Linked DNA regions of Homo sapiens: all the other regions are linked to region 2. The links are contacts of gene promoters, found by promoter capture Hi-C in human tissues and cell types (Jung and others, 2019). All regions are on one chromosome and are shown on one strand. The core of a region is centred on a gene start or on the middle of the fragment in contact, and the rest is flanking DNA. Distances in the headings are between cores, read along the strand shown.

Evidence for each region. The method cuts DNA at HindIII sites, captures the fragments that hold promoters and counts their contacts. A contact is called where the count stands out against the background at its distance.
Region 1: a contact is called between the fragment with the promoter of ICAM1 here and the fragment with the promoter of CDC37 in region 2, in 1 of the 25 tissues and cell types used here (lymphoblastoid cells).
Region 3: a fragment that was not itself captured here is called in contact with the fragment with the promoter of CDC37 in region 2 in 5 of the 25 tissues and cell types used here (IMR-90 fibroblasts, dorsolateral prefrontal cortex, hippocampus and 2 more).
Region 4: a contact is called between the fragment with the promoter of AP1M2 here and the fragment with the promoter of CDC37 in region 2, in 1 of the 25 tissues and cell types used here (lymphoblastoid cells).

The regions. Positions count from the first base shown.
Region 1 is chr19:10,269,870-10,272,569 of GRCh38, forward strand. It overlaps ICAM1 (intercellular adhesion molecule 1), which reads left to right and starts at 1,251. Exons shown (of 7, transcript NM_000201.3): 1 at 1,251-1,357. The coding sequence starts at 1,291. The region is part of intron 1 of LIMASI (lncRNA inflammatory and mucous response associated, antisense to ICAM1); the gene reads right to left. RefSeq lists enhancers at 813-902, 1,813-2,052. The HindIII fragment of the contact is 18,240 bases long and covers 1-2,700 here.
Region 2 is chr19:10,402,232-10,404,931 of GRCh38, forward strand. CDC37 (cell division cycle 37, HSP90 cochaperone) reads right to left here and starts at 1,311. Exons shown (of 8, transcript NM_007065.4): 1 at 1,147-1,311. The coding sequence starts at 1,248. MIR1181 (microRNA 1181) reads right to left here and starts at 1,307; the gene lies at 1,227-1,307. RefSeq lists a silencer at 1,027-1,086 and an enhancer at 1,487-1,836. The HindIII fragment of the contact is 39,094 bases long and covers 946-2,700 here.
Region 3 is chr19:10,647,262-10,649,961 of GRCh38, forward strand. No RefSeq gene overlaps it. Among named protein-coding and RNA genes, the nearest start is that of ILF3-DT, 5.3 kb to the right of the region's middle. The HindIII fragment of the contact is 3,105 bases long and covers 1-2,700 here.
Region 4 is chr19:10,585,971-10,588,670 of GRCh38, forward strand. It overlaps AP1M2 (adaptor related protein complex 1 subunit mu 2), which reads right to left and starts at 1,342. Exons shown (of 12, transcript NM_005498.5): 1 at 1,220-1,342. The coding sequence starts at 1,261. The HindIII fragment of the contact is 10,873 bases long and covers 1-2,700 here.

The DNA.
Region 1 (2,700 bases), core at 1-2,500, 130 kb before region 2:
GCAGCCCCCTTCCCCGATAGGAAGGGCCTGCGCGTCCGGGGACCCTTCGCTTCCCCTTCTGCTGCGCGACCTCCCTGGCCCCTCGGAGATCTCCATGGCGACGCCGCGCGCGCCCCACAACAGGAAAGCCTTAGGCGGCGCGGCTTGGTGCTCGGAGACTTAAGAGTACCCAGCCTCGACGTGGTGGATGTCGAGTCTTGGGGTCACACGCACAGGCGGTGGCCAAGCAAACACCCGCTCATATTTAGTGCATGAGCCTGGGTTCGAGTTGCCGGAGCCTCGCGCGTAGGGCAGGGGTTCGAGCGCCCCTTCTCCCTGCCTCGCCTCTGCGCCTGGGGGCTGCTGCCTCAGTTTCCCAGCGACAGGCAGGGATTTCGAGCGTCCCCCTCCCCTCCCTCGTCAAGATCCAAGCTAGCTGCCTCAGTTTCCCCGCGGAGCCTGGGACGCCAGCGGAGGGGCTCGGCGCGTAGGGATCACGCAGCTTCCTTCCTTTTTCTGGGAGCTGTAAAGACGCCTCCGCGGCCAAGGCCGAAAGGGGAAGCGAGGAGGCCGCCGGGGTGAGTGCCCTCGGGTGTAGAGAGAGGACGCCGATTTCCCCGGACGTGGTGAGACCGCGCTTCGTCACTCCCACGGTTAGCGGTCGCCGGGAGGTGCCTGGCTCTGCTCTGGCCGCTTCTCGAGAAATGCCCGTGTCAGCTAGGTGTGGACGTGACCTAGGGGGAGGGGCATCCCTCAGTGGAGGGAGCCCGGGGAGGATTCCTGGGCCCCCACCCAGGCAGGGGGCTCATCCACTCGATTAAAGAGGCCTGCGTAAGCTGGAGAGGGAGGACTTGAGTTCGGACCCCCTCGCAGCCTGGAGTCTCAGTTTACCGCTTTGTGAAATGGACACAATAACAGTCTCCACTCTCCGGGGAAGTTGGCAGTATTTAAAAGTACTTAATAAACCGCTTAGCGCGGTGTAGACCGTGATTCAAGCTTAGCCTGGCCGGGAAACGGGAGGCGTGGAGGCCGGGAGCAGCCCCCGGGGTCATCGCCCTGCCACCGCCGCCCGATTGCTTTAGCTTGGAAATTCCGGAGCTGAAGCGGCCAGCGAGGGAGGATGACCCTCTCGGCCCGGGCACCCTGTCAGTCCGGAAATAACTGCAGCATTTGTTCCGGAGGGGAAGGCGCGAGGTTTCCGGGAAAGCAGCACCGCCCCTTGGCCCCCAGGTGGCTAGCGCTATAAAGGATCACGCGCCCCAGTCGACGCTGAGCTCCTCTGCTACTCAGAGTTGCAACCTCAGCCTCGCTATGGCTCCCAGCAGCCCCCGGCCCGCGCTGCCCGCACTCCTGGTCCTGCTCGGGGCTCTGTTCCCAGGTGAGTCGGGGTGGGGATTGCCGTCGGGCCAGTTCTCCGAAGCCCCGGGAGGACCGGCTCCCGGGTCAGGTCATGCATGCTTAGGTAGCTGTTTATGGGAAGGAGGGGCTAGAGACAGCGATTGAAAGGCAACAGCCAGTAGGTTCGAATCCAGACCCTGCATACCTCCACGTGTGGCCTTGGGCTATAGATTGCAGCTTTAAAAAAGGGTAGGGGGTTGGAGATGGAGGGGAGGGGCGGGCCTCGTTTTGTTGCCCAGGCCGGTCTTGAACTCCGGGGGTCTAGCCTTACCTCCTGCCTCAGCCTCCCGAGTAGCTGGGATGAGAGGTGTGAACCACCGCCTTGCTTGGCTAGATTGCGTCTCTTACAGTTTCTCAGCTGTAAAACGGGAAACGTTATAGCGGCCACCTGGCAGGGTATCTTGGCCCAGCGCAGCACCTGGCCCCAGGACTCGATCATGATGGTTTGGGAACTTGGCTCTGTGCCAACCCAACAAGGCTTAAGGGACCCCCACCCCCCTCAAGATGTATATTCTGTTCCTCATCCTCTCTGCCCCTGGGGAAGTCCAGGGCTGCTTCTACTTGGGGGAATTCCAGAGCTGACTTATCCGTGGCCCAAAGCTGAGAAGTGGGACGCCCCAGCACACCCTCCCCCAGCTCCAGCCCAGCTAGGGAAGAGGGAAGGGGTCAGAGGGTCTTTCATGGTGGTGTAAGTTTGGGGAACCAGGAGGGTGGGAGATTGACAGCTTGGTTAACAGCTCAACAAAGCCTGAGATCCAGGCCAGCACGGTAGTTCATGCCAGTAATCCCAACACTTTAGGAGCCCCAGGCGGGCGAATCACTTAAGGTCAGGAGTTTGAGACCAGCCTGGCCAACATGGCAACATCCCGTCTCTACTAAAAATACAAAAATTAGCTGGCATGGTGGTGGGCGCCTGTGATCCCAGCTGCTCGGGAGGCTGAGGGAGGAAAATCCCTTAAGCCCACGAGGCTGAGGTTGCAGTGAACCAAGATTGTGCCACTGCACTCCAGCCTGGGAGACATAGCGAGATTCTGTCTCAAAAAACAAAGCGTTCTGATCCGGACTCAGACCCAGATCGCACTGCTTTCTAGCTGAGTAACCATTTCTCTCTATGAAATGGGAATGGTCCCAGAATCTCCCTTGGAGAATGTATGGAGCCAGTGTCCTCACACCCCCATCCAAGATAGAACAAATCTGAGACAGGAATCTTTGAGTGAGGCAGTGCTGGGCTCAGACATTTTTTCCCACCTTCGGAGGCAGCAGAATCTGAGGGACCTGATCCAAATAAGCCCCTTCTTTCTTTCTTTTCTTTTCTTTTTTTTT
Region 2 (2,700 bases), core at 61-2,560:
GCAGGAGGTTAAACCTTTAAGTCTTAGTCATCCCATTGGCTCGTGAGCACTGAGAGGGTGGTGGGACATGGATCACCCAGGCTTGGGATTCTGGGGTCTGGATTCGGGACCTCTGTTGTGGTCAGATAGAAGAAGGGGTGGTGAATTTAGAATCAGACCAGGAGAGTCCCTGGATAAGAGCAGGGACAATTTGGGTCACAGAGTAGCTAACAGGCTGGGGACAAAAGGTGGGGTGGGTTTGGGGTTCTGGGCTTGAGTTAGGGGAGAGTTTCCAATGCTGGCTGAGGCTCATACAGGAAGCCAGTCTGGGAAGTGGGTGGTGACAGGGTCTGCAATACCAAGTAGGAGCAGGGGCTCTGGCTAGGCCGGAAGCCACGTGGGCAGGATTTCCTGGTATAATGGGAAATGGGTCTACCGGAGGCCAAAGGAGAGGCTGGAATGTGAGGCTCTATCGGGTTGGAGCTGGTAGTTAGATCCAGAGGGGAACCAGATTCCAAAACCCAAGTACTCGGTGAGACTAAGGATCCTGAAGGGGGACGGTTCTACACTCTAGGAAGGGGGTCCTGGGTGTGGGCAGGGACAGGAATATCAGAGTAGCACAGAGTTCCTTGTTCCGTTTAGAAAAGGAGTGGCGACTCCGGATCTGAATGGGAACCCCGGATCAAGATCCCGGAAAGTAGATCCCGGGACAGACCAAAGTATTGGGGGTCCAGACTACGGAGGTGGGGGGGCGATGGGAGATCCCAGATAGGAAGTGAATACCCGAATAGGATGAGGGATCATCTAGAAGAATTTGGGGTCCAAACTTTGAGGCAGAGTTCTGGGTATAAATGTTAACTGCCGAACAGAATTAGGGAGAACCCCCAAGACTCGTCTAGGGGACTCCAGACTATGAAGAAGTTCTAGGGGGTGAATAGGGAATCCCACGCAAAAATCGGAGCAGGGAGTGGGGGAGCGGAGATCCAGGGCAGGGACTCAGGGTCCCAATGGTACTGGGGTCCCGGAGTTGAATCGAAGCTCCTGAAAATCCAGACTGGGGGGGTGAGAATCCTAGGTGTGAACAGCGGGGTCCCTGGGCAGTATCGGGGATCACAACTCCGAAGCGGGGTCCGGGAGTGGGGAAAGGGATGGGCGCGCGCGCCTTACCTGATGCCGCCAGCGGAAGAGACTGGCCGTGTCGATGTTGGGGTGCGTCTCGTCTTCATCATCAGACACCTCAATGTGGTCCCACACGCTGTAGTCCACCATCTTGCCTTGGCGGCCCAGCCCGCTCCGGCTCGGGTGGCGGCGACGGCGGCAGCAGTGGAGACTAGGAGCGCGGAGCCCCGCCCCTTCCGCTTCCGCCGAGCGCGGGAAACCCCGCCCTGTGTGACGTCACATCCCTAGTAACCGCGGCAGCGGCACTAGCTACCCAGCCAGCCTTAAAGGGCCCTGCGTAAGTGTTCCGGCCCCCTGGAGTTCCCGCAGAGACTCCGCGTCATCGGGCGCTGGGGCTCCGCTAGGTCTCCTGGGGGCATATGAGTGCGCGCTTCAACTCCGAGCCCCCCTCATCTCCCGCCGCTCCACGGTGGGCGTTTGGGGTGGCAGGGAGGGGACGGTTGATGAGACTGAGAGGACTGTCCCCTCAGCCACGCCGCAGTGACGTCTGCAAGGGGTAGGGACACGGCGGGAAGGCCCTCCCCCTGCCCTTCGTAAACGGGGACCTAAGCCTGCGCTGGAGAGGGGCGCCTGATGACTCCTCGGACTTTCTCAGCCCGAGGAGGACTGGACCTGCCCTGGGGGTGTCTAAATCGGGGGTGGTATGGCCCTCCCCTTGCAGGGTTAAACGTGGAGGGGAGACTGTGGCCCTGCCTTGGGAGCTGGGGTTTCCCCGCCTCGGCAACAGCCTTCTCCTTGTCTTCCACCTCCTGCCATTCGCAGCGAGGACTCGCGCGAGCGCGCGCGCGCACACACACACACACACACACACACACGCACACACACACACACACACACTTTGGAATCACCCGGACCCCCTCAAAACGGGTCTCGGCTCCCCACCCCGCTGGCCGCTGGGTGTCGCTAGAGTCTAGCCCACGGCGCGTATTCCTGGCCCCGCGCTTGGTGGGGGGAATCGTGGAGGGGTGGAAGGGGGCTTTCCTTGTCGTCACAGTCTGGGGCCACGCATAGCCCCTCCCCGTTCGTCTTGGGGTACGCTTCCTCCGCCGGGGCTCTAAGGACTCCATTACTCTAAGCATGCAGGGCCTCGACCACCTCACACTTCCATGCATCCCAATCCACGCTTTGATACCAGGATAATAGGCCGTGTTGCAGCCTTGGGCCAGGATTATCTCAGATTAAAGGGTGCTCCCTCGGGGGTCAGGCTGGATAGGAGGAGCTCCAGCCACTCCGGTGAGGGGCGCCTCTTCCTAGTCTCCCCTGGAGCCGACGTTGGAGGCAGTGCCTGGAGAGAGCGAGCGAAGTTCTCCAGAAGGGGGAGGATTCCCCGGTGCATGGAGCGGGAAGGGCCATCGGACAAAAACGTCCTCCCGCTGCCGCCCTTCCCCCTCGCGCTTCATTCAAACCCGCGAGTGGGCGGGCAGGGGCGGGGGAGTCCCCATCTCCTACCCCTCCCTCTTCCCCTCCACCCTGGCAGTCCAGCACATCAGTGGCCGTCACGGCCCGGGCACGCGCGCGCACGGACCCACACCCCGGCGGCTC
Region 3 (2,700 bases), core at 110-2,609, 250 kb after region 2:
AGGATTCAGACTGAGCCTCGCTACTGGCTTTGCAGGGTCTTCAGCTACTGGAGCTGCTGGCTTTTCAGGGTCTGCAGTCAATGCATGTGGTAGGACATCTCAGCCTCCATGATCACATGAGCCAATTATTCTGCTAAATCCCCTCTCATCTACCTACCTCCTATTAGCTTTCTCGGAGAAACCTAGTAATACACACATCATACATTTTCCTGGCCTTTTTTTTTTTTTTTTTTTTTTTTTGAGATGGAGTCTTGCTCTGTCACTCAGGCTGGAGTGCAGTGGCACGATCTAGGCTCACTGCAAGCTCCGCCTCCCGGGTTCACGCCATTCTCCTGCCTCAGCTCCTGAGTAGCTGGGACTACAGCTGCCCGCCACCACCCCCGGCTAATTTTTTTGTATTTTTCGTAGAGACAGGGTTTTACCATGTTAGCCAGGATGGTCTCGATCTCCTGACCTCATGATCCGCCTGCCTTGGCCTCCCAACGTGCTGGGATTACAGGCATGAGCCACCGCACGCAGCTACATTTTCCTGGCTTTAAGATGAGAAGTCTTCTCTTTTTTTGAGACGGAGTCTCGCTCTGTCGCCCAGCCTGGAGTGCAGTGGCATGATCTTGGCTCACTGCAACCTCCGCTTCCTGGGTTCAAGCAATTCTCTGCCTCAGCCTCCCGAGTAGCTGGGATTACAGGAGCCCGCCACCATGCCCGGCTAATTTTTGTATTTTTAGTAGAGATGGAGTTTCACCATCTTGGCCAGGCTGCTCTTGAACTCTTGAACTCTTGATCCACCCACCTCGGCCTCCCAAAGTGTTGGGATTAGAGGGCCAGAAAAGTCTTTTCTTGCTCCTAAGTCTCAGGCCTGGAGCTCACTGACTCTGACCAGCCTGATTATGATCATTTACTCATTGTAAATCATTGAGTCAATCATTGTAGTCAAGGTGTGGGCCTAGTTTGGGAGTCAGGCAGCAGGGACCTGCCATCTAGACTACAGTTTGATCAAGGGAGAGGAATGGTTCCCCAACAACTGTGGTCATCCCACAGTGTCCATCCCAGAGTGGTCACCCATGTCCACCCTGGGGGGGGGCAAGAAGGGAACAGGCATAGGACAAAAAGCTTTCGAGAGGGAAGTTAACTGGGTGTGATTGGGAGAGTGGGTGGAATCTTTCAAGATGAGGAAGACAATGAATAGAGAGGCTGTAAGGACAGCAGAGTCACTGAGAGTGACAGGACCTGTCTAGACTGACAGATTACAAGAGGGGGATGACCTCAATCTTCAACCAATGAGTGGGAGGGAGGGAAGAGAGAAGGAATAGCCAGATGACAGATGATGTCACTAAGGCAAGGAGGAGAGAATGGTGTTGTATACAGGGTTTGTGACCACTGAGTGGTGGAAGGACAAGGGCAGAGGTGCGAGGTCGGGTCAGGGTAGCAGTTCAGCAAGACAGGGCAGATGGCATCTTGTGTCTTCCATCCTTTACGGTGACCAGGGACTAGGAACCTGATGGATGGGGTTTATTGGAAAGTTGGGCTGAAAACTTTTTACTTCAAAAAATTTTTTTCTTTTTCCTTTTTTTTTTTTTTTGAGACGAAGTCTCACTCTTGTCCCCCAGTCTGGAGTGCAATGGTGCAATCTCAGCTCACTGCAACCTCCGCTTCCTGGGTTCAAGTGATTCTCCTGCCTCAGCCTCCCGAGTAGCTGGGATTACAGGTGCGTACCACCACGCCCAGCTAATTTTTTATATTTTAAGGAGAGATGGGGTTTCACCATGTTGGCCAGGCTGGTCTCGAACTCCTGACCTCAAGTGATCCACCCGCCTCGGCCTCCCAAAGTGCTAGGATTAGAGGGTGAACCACCACACCTGGCCCTTTCTTTTTTTTTTTAGACACAGTCTCCCTGTCACCCAGGCTGGACTGTAGTGGCTTGATCTCGGCTCACTGCAACCTCCACCTCCCAGGTTCAAGCGATTCTCGTGCCTCAGCCTCCCGAGTAGCTGGAATTACAGATGCCAGCCATCATGCCCAGCTACTTTTTGTACTTTTAGTAAAGACAGAGTTTCACCATGTTGGCCAGGGTGGTCTTGAACTCCTGACCTCAAGTGATCCACCAATCTCGGCCTCCCAATGTGCTAGGATTACAAGTATGAGCCACTGCCCCCAGCCTTCTTTTTGTTTTTATTCTTGAAAACTTTTTTTTTTTTTAATGTAGAGATGGGGCTGGGTGCAGTAGCTCATGCCTGTAATCCCAGCACTTTGGGAAGCCAAGGTGGGTGGATAACTTGAGGTCAGGAGTTTGAGACCAGCCTGGCCAACATGGCAAAACCCAGTCTCTACTAAAAATACAACAATTAGCTGACCATGGTGGTGTACGCCTGCAATCCCAGTGACTTGGGAGGCTAAGGCAGAATTGCTTAAACTCGGGAATTGGAGGTTGCAGTAAGCTGAGATTGTTATCACTGCACCCTAGCTGGGACTACAGAACGAGACTCCATCTCAAAAATAAATAAATAGATAGATAGATAAAAAACATAGAGATGGGGTCTCACTATGTTGCCCAGACTGGTCTTGAACTTCTGGGCTCAAGCAATCCCCCTGCCTCAGCCTCCCAAAGTGTAGGATTACAGGCATGAGCCAGCATGCCTGGCCAAGACAACATTTTTCAGGAAGTTCTGGTTGGATGGGGCACCCGTTCAAGAGGTAACAATC
Region 4 (2,700 bases), core at 92-2,591, 180 kb after region 2:
AAAAAATAAAAATAAAAAATAGGCCGGGTGCGGCCGGGCGCAGTGGCTCATGTCTGTAATCCCAGCACTTTGGGAGGCCGAGGTGGGCGGATCACGAGGTCAAGAGATTGAGACCATCCTGCCCAACATGGTGAAACCCCATCTCTACTAAAGATACAAAAAATTAGCCGGGCGTGATGGTGCGCGCCTGTAATCCCAGCTACTCAGGAGGCTGAGGAAGGAGAATCACTTGAACCTGGGAGGTGGAGGTTGCAGTGAGCCAAGATCATGCCATTGCACTCCAGCCTGGGTGACAAGGCGAGACTCTGTCTTGAAAAAAAAAAAAAATACAAAAATTAGCCAGGCATGGTGGCATGCACCTGTAGTCCCAGCTACTCGGGAGGCTGAGGCAGGAGAATTGCTTCAACCCGGGAGGTGGAGGTTGCAGTGAGCCAAGATGGAGCCACTGCACTCCAGCCTGGGTGACAGAGCAAGACTCTATTTAAAAAAAAAAAAAAAAAAAAATTAAAAATAGCCGGGCATGGAGGGGTCAGCCCGCAGCCCCAGATATTCAGGAGTTTGAGAGCAGCTTTGGCAACATAGCGGGATCCCTCTACAAAAAAATGTCAAGAATTAGCCAGGCATGGTGGCCTGCACCTGTGTAGTCACAGCTACTCCGGAGACTGAGGCAGGAGGATCGCTTGAGCCCAGGAATTCCAGGCTGCAGTGAGCTATGATCGCACCACTGCACTCAAGCCTGGGAGACAGCAAGAGACCCTGTCTCCAAAATAAAAAAAGACAAGAGGAATAAAAGGACTTCAGGAAGAGGCAAGGCAGCCACAGATGGGGGGAGTTAGAGGCCCCTGTTCCAGTTGCCTTCCCCAGGTATTAACACTGTGGATGCCGACAGTGATGGAGATAATTTCAATTTGCTGAGTCCCTAATATTTCCAGAAAGGCCACTATGCTAAGTAGTTTACACGCAGCGAGTTGTATTAATTCTCATTGGGTGGGGACCTCTGTTGCTCCCATTTTTACATACAGAGAAACTGAGGCCCTAGGAGGCGAACCCCTTGGCCTCAGGCACAAGGCGAGTGGATGCTGGAGGTGGGATTCCCAGGGATTGCAGGGGGAGGGGGTGTTCCCAGACCTCTTCCTGGCCCGCGCGGAGGGGTCGCCCCTGAATCCCTGGGAGCGAGACCTCACCTGTCCGTCTCCCAACTCCTCATGCCCAGCCTCACCTTGCCCTTAACGTCCAGAATGAAGACAGCCGAGGCGGACATGGTGGCGGCCGAAGGACTTAGGAGTCGGGGAGGGAGCGCCGGGAGGCGATGGCGGCGCCGCTTCCTTCTTCCTGCGGAAGCGCCTGCGCCCAGGTGAGAGCCCAGGTGTGTGCGTCTTAAAGGGGAGGCGGCCAGGTGAGCAGCGCTGTCGGCCAACTTGAAGATGGCTGCGGGGCCGGGAGAGGTACTGCGACTTCAGATGGGTCTGCTGCCCCCCTTCACTTTCCCTAGCCACCCAGGAGTAATGACGGGTGGAGACCCCAAACCAATCAACCATCCTTCCATCCATTCATTCATCCTTCCTTTCATTCATCTATCCATCCATTCGTCCATCCATCCATTCATTCTTGCATTCATTAATCCATCCACGCATCCACTCATTTAGCCATTCATTAATCCATCTTCCATCGATTCATTGATCCATCCTTCCATTCGTCATCCATTTCTTCATCCATTTTTGCATTCATTTATTTGTTCGTCTATCCATTATCCATTCATCCATCCATTTATTCATCCATTCATTCATCCCTTCTTGCATTCATTCATTTATTCATCTTTCCATTCATCCATCCATTCATCCATTCTAACATTCATCAATTTATTCATCTATCCATCCATCCATCCATCCGTTCATCCATTCTTGCATCATTAATTTATTCATCTATCCATTCATCAATCCATCCATCCATCCATTCTTGCATTCATTAATTTATTCATCTATCCATTCATCCACCCATCTATCCATTCATTCATCCTCTCATTGATTCATCCATCCATTCACCTTCTTTCTCCTCTGTCTCACCCACACACGTCAGCCCCCATACAGCAGGGACTTTGTCTTGTTCATGTTTATGTCCCTAGTGCTCAGCACTGGGTGCTCAAAATTTGCCCAATTCATTCATTCACTCATTCATATAATAATTTTCACTGGTGAATTTTACTGACTGAATTTGAAATATTCATTCACTCAGTAACAGGAACTGTGGATATAATTCCGAGCAGGACAAATGTACTTGCTTTTATTATTCTTACAAATTTACTCTTATTCATTTCAAATAAAAAATTTATTTTTTTTTGTTTTTTGAAATGGAGTCTCACTCTGTTGCCCATGCTGGAGTGCAGTGGAATGATTTTGGCTCACTGCAACCTCCACCTCCCAGGTTCAAGCAATCCTCCTGCCTCAGCACCCCTAGTAGCTGGGATTACAGGCAAGCGCCACCATGCCCAGCTAATTTTTTTTTTTTTTTAGACTCCAGGCTGGAGTGCAGTGGCATGATCTCTACTCACTACAACCTCCGCTTCCCGGGTTCAAGGGATTCTGCTGCCTCAGCCTCCCAAGTAGCTGGGATTACAGGTATGCGCCATCACGCCTGGCTAATTTTGTATTTTTAATAGAGATGGGGTTTCACCATGTTGGCCAGGCTGGTCTCGAACTCCCG